Linked DNA regions of Homo sapiens: region 2 is linked to region 1. The links are contacts of gene promoters, found by promoter capture Hi-C in human tissues and cell types (Jung and others, 2019). All regions are on one chromosome and are shown on one strand. Each heading gives the region's core, a stretch centred on a gene start or on the middle of the fragment in contact. The rest is flanking DNA. Distances are from core to core; before and after follow the strand shown. Region 1 holds the start of BCO2 (beta-carotene oxygenase 2). Region 2 overlaps NCAM1 (neural cell adhesion molecule 1).

What was found. The method cuts DNA at HindIII sites, captures the fragments that hold promoters and counts their contacts. A contact is called where the count stands out against the background at its distance.
Region 2: a contact is called between a fragment that was not itself captured here and the fragment with the promoter of BCO2 in region 1, in 1 of the 25 tissues and cell types used here (dorsolateral prefrontal cortex).

The regions. Positions count from the first base shown.
Region 1 is chr11:112,172,828-112,178,973 of GRCh38, reverse strand. BCO2 (beta-carotene oxygenase 2) reads right to left here and starts at 3,462. Exons shown (of 12, transcript NM_031938.7): 1 at 3,285-3,462. The coding sequence starts at 3,372. RefSeq lists a silencer at 935-1,101. The HindIII fragment of the contact is 3,487 bases long and covers 2,259-5,745 here.
Region 2 is chr11:113,254,786-113,260,931 of GRCh38, reverse strand. NCAM1 (neural cell adhesion molecule 1) reads right to left here. Exons shown (of 20, transcript NM_181351.5): 16 at 4,931-5,055; 17 at 609-786. Among named protein-coding and RNA genes, the nearest start is that of NCAM1-AS1, 16 kb to the left of the region's middle. The HindIII fragment of the contact is 4,981 bases long and covers 1,381-6,146 here.

The sequences.
Region 1 (6,146 bases), core at 2,213-4,712:
TCTCATAGTTGAACAATACCTGTCTTTTTACAAGAATAAATCTACATGCCAACCCCAGATGTGCTAAGAGCAACCTCGTTGTTATAAAAATGACCACCATTCAATATTATCCAATTATATTGACCCCAGTAATTTAGATATACCAGAATGTGATTCCAAAGACTTCATAGCGATTCCTGTGAATTTAATAAGATCTTAAATTTAATTCCTTTTATTTTAATGGCATATACATGAAAATACAAGGCATTTTCCAGTAGAAGGGTGTCAAAAATTAAATTATGCAGTGATATCCAGTCTGAAATTACCTAAAGTGCAAAAGGCACAAGAAGTAAAAATCATAGTTGTATAATAAGGAACTGAAACTTCTCCCTATTATTTTAACATTACTGAGTGTTCACAAGGCAGTACTGCCTAACATAGAGGGGTGGTCAAATAAATAATTAAGTGCTATAAAATAGAATTCTTTATCTCATAAAAGTTTAAGAGTGATTCAGAAATCTAGGCTAGAAAAATGAGCTAACATATAGGGACACTATTACTCTGAAGAAGTGAGATTTGCATTCTTTTAGCAAGTTGTTACTATCCCATTTCTTTCAAATCTTTCAAAAATTCAGCTTGAAGCACACGAGACATTCTACTCCCCTATATGACATGTAACAAATGAGTCAAACCTAATTCTTTACTGATTTTTCAAATAAAATTCTCTTTCACCCTGAATGTCTTTCCCAATGTCCTTTTCTCTAGTTCTAAGAAAATTCCAGCGGGGCACGGTGGTTCAAGTCTGTAATCCCAGCACTTTGGGAGGCCAAGGCAGGTGGATCACCTGAGGTCAGGAGTTCGAGACCTGTCTGGCCAACATAATGAAAGCCCATCTTTACTAAAAATACAAAAAAAAAAAATAGCCGGGTGTGTTGGCCGACCCCTGTAATCCCAGCTACTCAGGAGCTGAGGCAGGAGAATCGCATTGAACCCAGGAGACAAAGGTTGCAGTGAGCCGAGATCGCAGCACTGCACTCCAGCCTGGGCAACAAGAGCGAAACTTCGTCTCAAAAAAAAAAAAAAAAGCAAATTCCATTAATTGGTCAAGGTCTATCTCCAGTGTTACAGTACTTCCCTTAAGAGGCAGCACAGTGTAATATTTAAGGGTGTGAGCTGGGGCTCTACCTGGCTCCAGACTGGTTGGTTTCAAATATGCCCTCTCCTAAATAAGAAGGCTTGAGAAAGGCACTTATCACCTCTCTGTGGTCTGTTTCCTCTTTTCTAAGATGGTGATGATGATAATTCATATTACTTCTAAGGCTATAAGTAATAAATGAGTTAGTTTATGTAAAGCTTTTAGAACAGAATACTCAAAAAATGCTATTATTATATTTACATAGCTTTTAATGATCAGTCCAATAAGGTGTAATATCTCCTTTATTTTATTCAGTTGACGAAGTACTTGGTACTGCTGAGAATAAAAAGCATTAGAATCCTGAAATAAAAGAACTGACTGCCTAGTAAACAGATCACTGACACTGTGTTTTATTTCAGCATTGTTTCTCAGAGTCTGGTATGAGGACTACTTGCAACAGAAATACCTGGTGTTACTGCTAAAATGCAGTTTCCTGGACTCCATTCTGGTCCTAATAAATCAGAATCTCTGGGGAAGGACAAGCAGGTATTCTTAAGCATACTAAAATCTGGGAACTACAGTATCAGAAGTACAAAGAGGATGCTTTGAAAAGATAGAGAAGGAAACTCTCAGGTATTTATGTTACTCTACTTTTATTAACATTATGCACCATTTATCTTATTCTCAGATTAAAATAAATTCCCTAAGGTCAGGTATGTAATTTTACTCATCTTACTTTTTTAAGTAAATTGAATGGCCTGATTGGGCATTTGTCTAAGTAGAGATACACAAATTTAAAGCATTTTACATTGTAGAAAATATTTACATGTCTATATGTTGTATACTCTATTGCATGCTACTGGTAATCTGCTACATGCTCTTCAAAGTTTCCATAGAATTTGACATTAACACTTTCTTAAACTCCTTTCTATTCGTAGCTTCTGAGACATTGTCCTATTCTAACTTTCCTGCTGCCCTATAACTACTCTCTGCATTCTGCTAGTTTTATTACTTATTAGCTGACAACCTTGGGCAAGTTACTTAATGTCTCTGAGCCTCAGGTTTTTCCATGATAAAATGGAAATAAAAGGAGGTTAATACTTCCTGTTTATGTCTGTTGTCATAATCAAATATAAAGATAGTGGATGCTTTCCAAATGTTAATTCCCTTTATGGGCTCCTTATCCCCCTTACCACTTCATGAATGTTCCTAAGGTCCTACCTTGGATCTTTAATCTCAGCACTCTCCCTTGGCAATCTCATCTAGTCTCTTAATTTCATCAATTACTTCTTGCAGGTGACTTTCAACATGTCAAAATAGAATGTTTAATTCCCCCCCCCCCGCCAATCAATTTTCTTCATCTAGGATATTTCCCAACTCCTTCAGATGAAATTTACTCACCTAACTCATCCTTCAAGATCCAGTTGCCATGTCATTTGCTTTATAAACACAGCATTCCCCTTACCTACAGCAAGAACTGATTCTCCTTAGTCTGAACTCACAGCATCTGTTTATAGCTCTCATATGGACCTTATCTTATCTGTCTTGTATGATAAATGATACTACCAGTACTCCTTGAGTACAGGGTCTGGTGTTTGTCTCCTCTCTCCTTCCAGTACGTAATACATTCCCTTGCATACTGCAAACATTAAATTACTACATTAAGTAATTTTAAAATTTATAGTGCATATTAGTATGATTTCTGAAAGCTCTAGATCAGCCAATTTCTATACATAAAATCATGTAACAATGGTAACTATAATAGAAGGCTATAAAACATAAATGAGTTTTAAGGCAGTCCCCGCAAAATGCAAATAGAGAAACCAAACAATTACATTAGAACGTGTGGCAGTGATTTTTCAATTTAGAAAAGCCTAAATATTGAATATTCTTCTTATTGCAAATCCCAAAGAATACCAAGTCCCTGAATCCTGCCTTAAATATTGCATAAAATATACAAATGTGAAGGCTGTTTCCCTGACCATGAGGAAACAATCCTAACTCAGCCTTCTTTAACTTCCAGGACTCTGCGGAATTGCTATCTCATCTGAGCCACACAGGACACAAAGCTTCAGAAGCTCCCAGCAACCTTCAGGAAAGAGGCACAGAATTCTAAGCGCAGACTGGCAAGAAGAGGAGGATGAGGAAGAGAAAGGGGCAAACCCTCTACCTGGGAGCCGGTGCACCATCACAGGAAGGAAATCCACTGCAGTGGCAGAATGACTCCTGATAAAATGGAGAAAGACTCGAAAAAACATTTTTGTATTGAGCAGATCCAGTGATTTCCAAATCCTCTCACACTGGCAGTTTTGAGTACTACTAAACAGTGAACACGCACAGAACTGCCTGGACTGTCCCTCCCTCACTGACAGGTCAAAGAGAGGACGCAGCTTAAGGGGCGGGGCTTATTTCCATGACAACCGTCCAAACACCCTAGCTATAATACGCAGCTGTTTGAAATATTAAAATTAGACCACCAATAGTGGTCTCCCCCGCCCTAAACTTTTCTTTTTCAAACCTGTTCTCACACTACAGTTAAGTCCGTTTATCCTGATGCACAGCATCAATTTTTTTATGCCACTCCTCTTCTGGAAGATTCCGACACAGAATAAAGTCCGAATTTAGACTGCCACTAGAGGACGCTACAATCTGGCAACAATTTACCTTTCATCCTTTTTCTCTGCCTTTAAATCACTTCATCCTTCCTTTTCTTTTCTATTCATTAATTTTACAGAACATTTTCTGACAATCTAGCATGAGTGAAAGTATGCCCTTAAAATGTATATGACTTTATTAACATTTTTAGCACCAATGTAGCAAATACTGTGCTACAAAGTAAGAATACCAAGAAACAAGATTGTCCCTGCTCTCCAGTTTAGACCATACACTATTCCCCTTCATGAATTATCATCCCAGCAAAGTGACTAACATACCATGATACGTTTGTTCTTCTGTGCCACTGAAGAAACTTTTCCCCTGCCTGAAATATCCCCTTTCCTTTTCAAAAATCCAATTTAAAATCTACCTCTCTGACTCCCTTACCAAAAGGTCTTCTAGTAACTCCCACAGCACTGCCACAGAGTTGCTTTTAACATTAACATATCATGTTTTCCTAGCAAAATTGTATTTCAAGAAAGAAGTGGTTAAAATTGTCAGAAGGGAGTGTCTTAATACATATAGCAGAGTACGAAGATAGTTCGGTATATATTTTGATTAGTAATCAATGAAAAATAACTTATAAATTTGTGATATTTTATTGAAATAGTAAAGAGTAACATTAGAAGTGTAAATTAAAGGGCAATAGTATTCCTGCAATAGCATTTCTCCAGTTGTGAGATAATAATAATTATTATTATTTTCTGAGACAGAGTCTCACTCTGTCACCCAGGCTGGAGTAGAGTGGCACAATCTCGGTTCACTGCAACCTCTGTGTCCCGGGTTCAAGTGATTCTCCTATCTCAGCCTCCTGAGTAGCTGGGACTACAGGTGTACGCCACCATACCCAGCTACTTTTTTTAATTTTTATTAGAGACAGGGTTTTGCCACGTTGGCCAGGCTGGTCTCGAACTCTTGACCTCAAGTGATCTGCCTGCCTCAGCCTTTCAAACTGCTGGGATTACAGGTGTGAGCCACCATGCCTGGCCAAGATAATTACTCTTGTCTACGTGGATGGTACCAAAGCCATCCAAATTTGATTTAAAAAATAAGCCTTCGACACCCAAGAATGATCAATAAAAAAATAAATAAATAAGCCTTCATGATTAGGCTTTCAGGCACCTTTATACTACAAGGTATAACAATTCTGAACAGTGCTGAACAGTAAACACATTGTGACTTAAAATCAGTTCTCCAGTCTTAATCATATCAAATGAAATGATCAAATCAATTTACTGAACCTGCAAAGGGAAGAACTAGATGTTAAACAATGGTGATACCATCAGGATATAACAAGTATATTATGAAATCTAGTCTCAAACAATCTGTTGGCCTTATTTTTCATATTAGTAATAAATGCTTAGAAAAAGAACATTTCTTAATGATGGTAGGTCGAAATCCAGATGACATGTCGTATTAACTCACAAATCTTCTTGTTGTATTTAGTTTTAAAAAATTTCCTTTTGGCCGGGCGAGTGGCTCATGCCTGTAATCTCAGCATTTTGGGAGGCTGAGGTGGGTGGGTCACCTGAGGTCAGGAGTTCGAGACCAGCCTGGCCAACATGGCAAAACCCCGTCTCTACTAAAAATACAAAAATTAGCCGGGTGTGGTGGCAGGCGCCTGTAATCCCAGCTACTCAGGAGGCCGAGGCAGGAGAATCACTTGAACCCAAGAGGCAAAGGTTGTAGTGAGCCAAGATCGCACCACTGCACTTCAGCCTAGGTAACAGAGCAAGATTCTGTCTCAAAAAAAAAAAGCAAAGGAAAGAAAGAAAAAATTGAAAAAATTTCCTTTCCTTCTTTTTTTAGAGAGAGTGTCACTCTGTCACCCAGGCTAGAGTGCAGTGATGCAATCATAGCTCACGGCAGCTTCGGATTCCTGGGCTCAAGCCATCCTCCCACTTCAGTCTCTCAAGTAGCTAGGATTAGAAATGGGAGCCACTGCAAGTGGCAAAAAAGAAAAAAATTCATTTCTAATAATTACTTTGTTGACCTCCAACCTATTCTGTGCCACCACCTCTATCAACCCAATAATTTTTTCCACTTAACCAATTTTCTTTAGCAAGTATTATTTTATTTCACTTTTGTCATCTTTTCTTATATGAGTATTTACATCATGTGGTGTTTATGCCTTAAAATAGTAATGTGATAAAATGAGATTTTATTTTAGAGTTTAGAAGGCAGCAAGGCAAATGTGCAGTCTCCCTTAGGAATAACAATTCCCTGTAGTACTATTTGCAATTTTCTGACTGCTTATATTGGAAAAATATACATGTAATAAACTGAACTGCCTATATGATTGAAAAATGGGTGCTATTTTGTTTAAAAATCTGGTTAATATAGCTATCCCATATAGTAATATATAACATAGAAAGTT
Region 2 (6,146 bases), core at 2,622-5,121, 1.1 Mb before region 1:
GCAGACCGGATTGCTTTCATTGATGGTGCTTTCCAGCATCTATTTTCTCCACTTGTTCTATTACAAGTGGTTCAATTTAATCTGTTTCCATTGAGAGGCCTTTGGTAGATAGGGTTTGTAAGTAAATGGGCATCATCTCTTCCTTCTCTTAGGGTCACCACAGAGAAGAGATTTGGACCATGGCTGTGCTCATAAAGCAAGCATCAGATAGGAAGTGCTTAGAAACAGTTATGTGGTCCAAGTATGATGTGGCAGATGGCAGATAAGGTCTCAAAAAAGGATCCTTACTCAACCAACTTCCAAGGCTAGGCTGGAGCTGGGGCATTTCCCATCTGAGGGGTCCAATGGACTGATTGGCATCAGTCCTTCAAGGCCAAATGGGACAGGACCTTTTCTCCAGGATGCTTGGCCAAGCCTTCCTGGGGGTCCAGTACATCTCACCCCACTGCACAGATAGGTACAAGGCAAAACTAAGCTTTGCATGGGCAACCAATCATGAGGATGGCTGTAAGCAAGCAAGTTGTCAGGGTTGTTCAGGCGCATTAGGAGGTGCAGCACTTGTGCATTAATTCAAAGCGGAAACAAACAGAAAGCAGAGGCAGCCATACCTGGGATGGCTGTGGGCTGGGCCGAGGTCCTGAACACAAAATGAGCCGCCTTGGATTTTCCTTGCTGGTTCTCAGCCACCACGTAGACCTCATACTCAGCATTCCAGTCCAGGGACTTCAGCATGACGTGGTCACTGCCAGACGGGAGCCTGATCTCTGGTTTCCACTCGGAGGAGAGCTTCTGGGAGAAACCGGCAAGAAGGATACAAGAGACCAAAAAAGCTTTAGATAAAAGTACTGGTAAGACCAGACAATAGGCAAAACTTACGGGACTCAATAACTTTTGGCATGAAATCATGAAAATAAGAAGCAATGATGGGGGTGGGCGCGGTGGCTCATGCCTATAATCCTAGCCACCTTGGGAGGCCGAGGCGGGTGGATCACTTGAGGTCAGGAGTTCAAGACCAGCCTGGCCACCATAGTGAAAACCCGTCTGTACTAAAAATACAAAAATTAGCTGGGCGTGGTGCCACACACCTGTAGTCCCAGCTACTCTGGAGGCTGAGGCAAGAGAATGGCTTGAACCCAGGAGGTGGAGGTTGCAGTGAGCCGAGATAATGCCACTGCACTCCAGCCTGGGTGACAGAGCAAGACTCTGTCTCCAAAAAAAAAAAAAAAAAAAAGCAATGATGGGACATGGTCTTTATTCTTTACCAGCCTGAAAAATTGCACAGGTCAGGAGGTCAACTTTGCATGCTGGCAAACACAAGCAACAGCAGATGCCAGTGTGGCATTGGGCCAACACCGTCAAGGTCCCATCACCTTCAGGGCATGCAGAGACTCAAGCACCACTCCTGTCTCCCAGGCTACACTCTGGTGCTGGGGACATATGCATAAGGATGTCCTAGAAGAGTAATAAAACAAGTACATTTCTTGTCATATTTCAGGATGCTGCTTAAGTTAAAGTGGCTGACTCACCTTCCTGATGTGTGAATACTGTGTAGATTCCAGTTTCGTTAAAAATGAAAACTATGGCCGGGCGCGGTGGCTCACGCCTGTAATCCCAGCACTTTGGGAGGCCGAGGCGGGCGGATCACGAGGTCAGGAGATCGAGACCATCCCGGCTAAAACGGTGAAACCCCGTCTCTACTAAAAATACAAAAAATTAGCCGGGCGTAGTGGCGGGCGCCTGTAGTCCCAGCTACTTGGGAGGCTGAGGCAGGAGAATGGCGTGAACCCGGGAGGCAGAGCTTGCAGCGAGCCGAGATCCCGCCACTGCACTCCAGCCTGGGCGACAGAGCGAGACTCCGTCTCAAAAAAAAAAAAAAAAAAATGAAAACTATTTTTGTTGAGCCCTTACTAAGAGCTAGGCACTACAAAAGCTTTACACACATTTTCTTGTTGTATTCCTACAACATGCCTGTGGGGTTTTGTCAGGCTCTTACTAAACCCAGTGATGGGGAAGTGAGAGAGAAGTAAGGTGACTAACGTAAAATCACACCTGCAGTCAAGGCTGGAGCTAAGTTCGTTTGGGCCCAAAACTATGATCTTTCCTTTTTTTTGTTTTTCTTAATTGTGTTCTTGAAAATAACAGTTTTAATTGATACAAAATAGCTATACAGATTTTCAGGGTACATGTGATAATTTAATACATTCACTTAATTTGTAAAGATCAAGTCAGTATAATTGAAATATCCATCACCTTAAATATTTTTCTCTGGGCTAGAAACATTTGAGTTATTTTCTTCTAGCTAGTTTGAAATATACAATAGGTAATTGTGAACTACAGTCACCCTACTGATCTATCAAACACTTGGCCGTATTTCTCCTATCAAACTGTATTTGTTTCCATCAATCAATCTCTCTTTGTCTTCTCCTCCTCTCATGATCTTTCCCTTCTATAGTAGGGAGCTCAGCAAACATCTGTTGGACTGAATAAGGTTTTTCTATTCCATGCAGTGTGACCTGGTCTCTACAACGGCAGCAAATAGATGGAGGTACCTCGGGACTAAGTTCTGCTGTCAAGTCCAACAGTGGGCTGCTCAAAGGGCCCACAAAGAACAATAATTAGGTAACCACCTCCCTCACCAAACAGTTTGTGGAAGAAGGCCTGAGAAGTCTTCAGATGGTTTCACCATTGCACAGCCCATCTCTTTGCAATCTTTGGCCTTTTCACAAGGCAGGTGCCCTGGGATATCTGCTGGGCACACAAGAAGTCTTGATAGATGTTTATTGCATGACAGGCTGCTCCTTGGAAGGGCAGAACACAATAGCACTGTCACCTGGACAGTGGTCTAGTAACTGTTGTAGGCCCATGGCTAAGGCTGGATGAGGAGTTATCTTACAGCAAAGCAGTCCTCCCAGGCAAAAGGGTTTGCACTAGCCAAAGAGATGCCTTTAGGAATGTGACAGTGCTCATGCTGCATGGGCAAATGCCAGTGGTGCTGGAAGGGGAATTCTAGTTTCCTTAGAGTCTAACCAGTCTGGCTATGCTGTAAGCTAGGATGTGTATATATCACTATGTGGCCCCACTTTCATTTAAAAGAAAGCAATTCCGGTATCTTTCCTCTTCATTTCTCTGTCTTCCTTGGCAAACATCATTATACAAGAGACAACCAGAATCTAGAGAAAATGTTATATTATACTTATTCATAATATAAAATTATAATATTTAGCAAACATGAATGAGGTTTTGAAGTGAGAGAGGGTGGTTACGGTTGTTGAAATCTAACATATTTCAGCGTTGTGCCCAGCTGTGTCTTTCTAATGCAGAGCTGCCTGCTGCAGCCACAGTGGCTCCTCAGACAAACTGACATCCGACATGGTTGGAGATGTCATACGGGAGATGGTTCCAGCCTGAGCCTGCCTCTTAGCAGTAACCATAGTGACCATTTATAAAGGTTTCCAAGTGTCAGGTGCATTTCAGGTTCTTTGCATATATTATAATGCATCTTTATAACAACTCAATAAGCTATTTTATCCCCATTTTACAGATGGAGAAATTGAAGTTCTGAAAGATTAGGTGACCTATTCTTCCAGAATAAGTAGTAAAGCTAGAATTGGATGCCATGTCTGTCTGGCTCTAAAACCTATGTTCTGTCCATGGGGCCACATCAGGATAACCATTGGAAAGGCATCCCAGCCTACCACATCTCTGCTTCCAGGGGTATATTGGGGGCCACCTGCCCAATCCTTGCACCCTACTTGGCAGTGAGGAAGCCATGGGGACCTCTCATTCACTGGGATCTCTGGACTGGGCCTCAGGGCAGTGACAGGCCTTTCCTACTATTTCAGCTCACATCTGCTTACAAATTAAGTGGGAACAAGGCCTCTGCAGCTGAGAAGTATGCCTGCGGGGCTCTGTGCTGAACTGACTTGCCAGAAGACTAGCTAGTTAAAGACCTATCACTTCCACAGGAGCTGATCACAAGGCAGAGAGGAAGTAACTCAGCTTCCCAGAAAAAGTCTTCCTTGGGGCTATGTGAAGAAAGGAAACTGCTCCCTGGTTCATTCTTTTCTCTACTACGAAACCCCAGCAAGAGGTTATTCTCAGTGCTCAGATGTGGCCTCTAAATCTCTCAGCCATTGGTTATAGTTGAAGATGACCAAGTGTCATTCTAAAACCAAAATGGAAAGGGTGATTTTCAGTGTGGGGGTTGTGATAAAAGGTGGAATGAGGGGAATCTTAAGTGGGTGGTGAGCAAACCAGGAGAAGGTGGCTTAGAGCCAACTTGCTGTTAGCAGGATTAGGACAGCTCAGGTGGCCAAGTGAAGGGCTGGTGAGGGAACTGGCATTGTTTGAGGACCTTAGGCAGCCTTGGGCAGTGGGGAGAGCCCAGCCTCTCAGTCAGGCTTGGATTCAAACTGCCTCACCCAGCTGCGTGAGATCCAGCAGTTATTGACTGCTGTACACCCACTTACTTCATCTGTAAAGAGGGGATAATGGTAAGACCTACTGTACAGGGTTCTTGTGCAGAGAAAATGCATGTGATCACAGTGAGGTGCAGGTGCCTGGCCTACAATACACATGTTATCCAAGGTAGGGATTCTTATATATTAGTATGGCATTTACAAGAAGTACTAGATAATGGCAAAATAACTTTGTAGAAAAGTTCAAGACACAGAAAAATCAACCATGGTATGGGTTTGTCACCACCACAGTCATCTATGAGGTTTCCAAATGGACCCAGTGTGAACATGACCTAATAGCTGTAGGGCTGTCTTGGGATTTTAAGCCATGGCCAGGGCCCATGGGCCACCTGCCAGACACAGAATAAGACCCCATCCCACCCCTGCCCCGTGGGCTGCCCCTGTTGTTTCCCTAGCAAGCTGGGTGCCAGGGTTGCAGGGTTCTGGTGAAGTCTGAGAAGGAGGCCACTCACCGCTCGGTACCTGACCAGATAGTGTCTGATGGGGGAGCCGCCGTCATCCTGCTTGATCAGGTTCACTTTAATAGAGTTTCCATCCTCTCCCATCTGCCCTTCGAGCTTAGGTGCACTGGGTTCCCCTGAAACAGCCAGTTAATTCACATGAAATTCTCATCCACAGAATGAAAATCCAACCCATCTGAATGGGATGGAGTGACAGGGTGGGGCTGGACACTTTTCTTGCTTTCTCAGAAATTCAAATGGTTAAAAAGCAATAAATATAAAACTGAATTCCAGGTAGATGCCTCAGACTGAGCCCAAACTGAGAGTGCCTCTTGGGAATGTTCTGGTAAATAGCCTTCCTGTGAGCAGGGTCCTTTCACCATTTTAGGAATAGGCTTTTTTTTTTTTTTTTTTTTCCCCTGTCTCACTGGTACTTATGTTTCCTTTTAGCTGGTCTTACAACTGAAGATTTAATTTTTATAAGCCTGACACATCTTGAGGAACAGCCTGAAATAGGAGAAAATAGAAGTGTTTGAGTAGGAAACTCCCACCTATAAAATTATTTTGTAAAACAGCCCAGTTTCTTGCCGGGACACATCACTCACCCCTGGGACTGGGAGGCCTGATCTCTAGTGGGAGTAAATAATGCTGCATTCTTGGGACTGGCTTTTCATGAACGACATTTTATTACTTAGATTCGTTTAAAAAATAAGAAGTTTCCGGTTGTGATTAAATAAATCACAACTTGCCCCAGGCAAGTTTTTTGTAAGTATCCTTATGGCTCTTATGCAAGTTTCCTGTAAGTATCCACTAATGGTTCAAATGAGTGAGTGCTAATTCTCAAGACTTTAATGTGTTAAAGTAACAATCAGTGCAGTCTTTTTCTTTGTGAGAGGAGAGAGAGAAAAATGTCTTTAGCATTTCTCAACAGAAAAACAGTTGTTTCTTGATTTGCAGTATACACTCAGCTTGTAGCACTGTGAATCCAAGGTCGAGAAGGAAGATGAACTTGCATGTGACAAACTGCTAGGGCTAGGATGGTTCTCCAGTGAGTAAGGCACTCATTTACTTTAAAAGAAACAATTGCATTAATATATGCTGAAAGTAATAAGGTGAGAGGACGTCTCATATACAAAGTTAAAATTAAGATTTAACACACTGGGGAATCCTGCACTTCTGTGAGGAGCTATCTCTGCATCTATTTCATAACCTCAGAGAGAAAACTTGG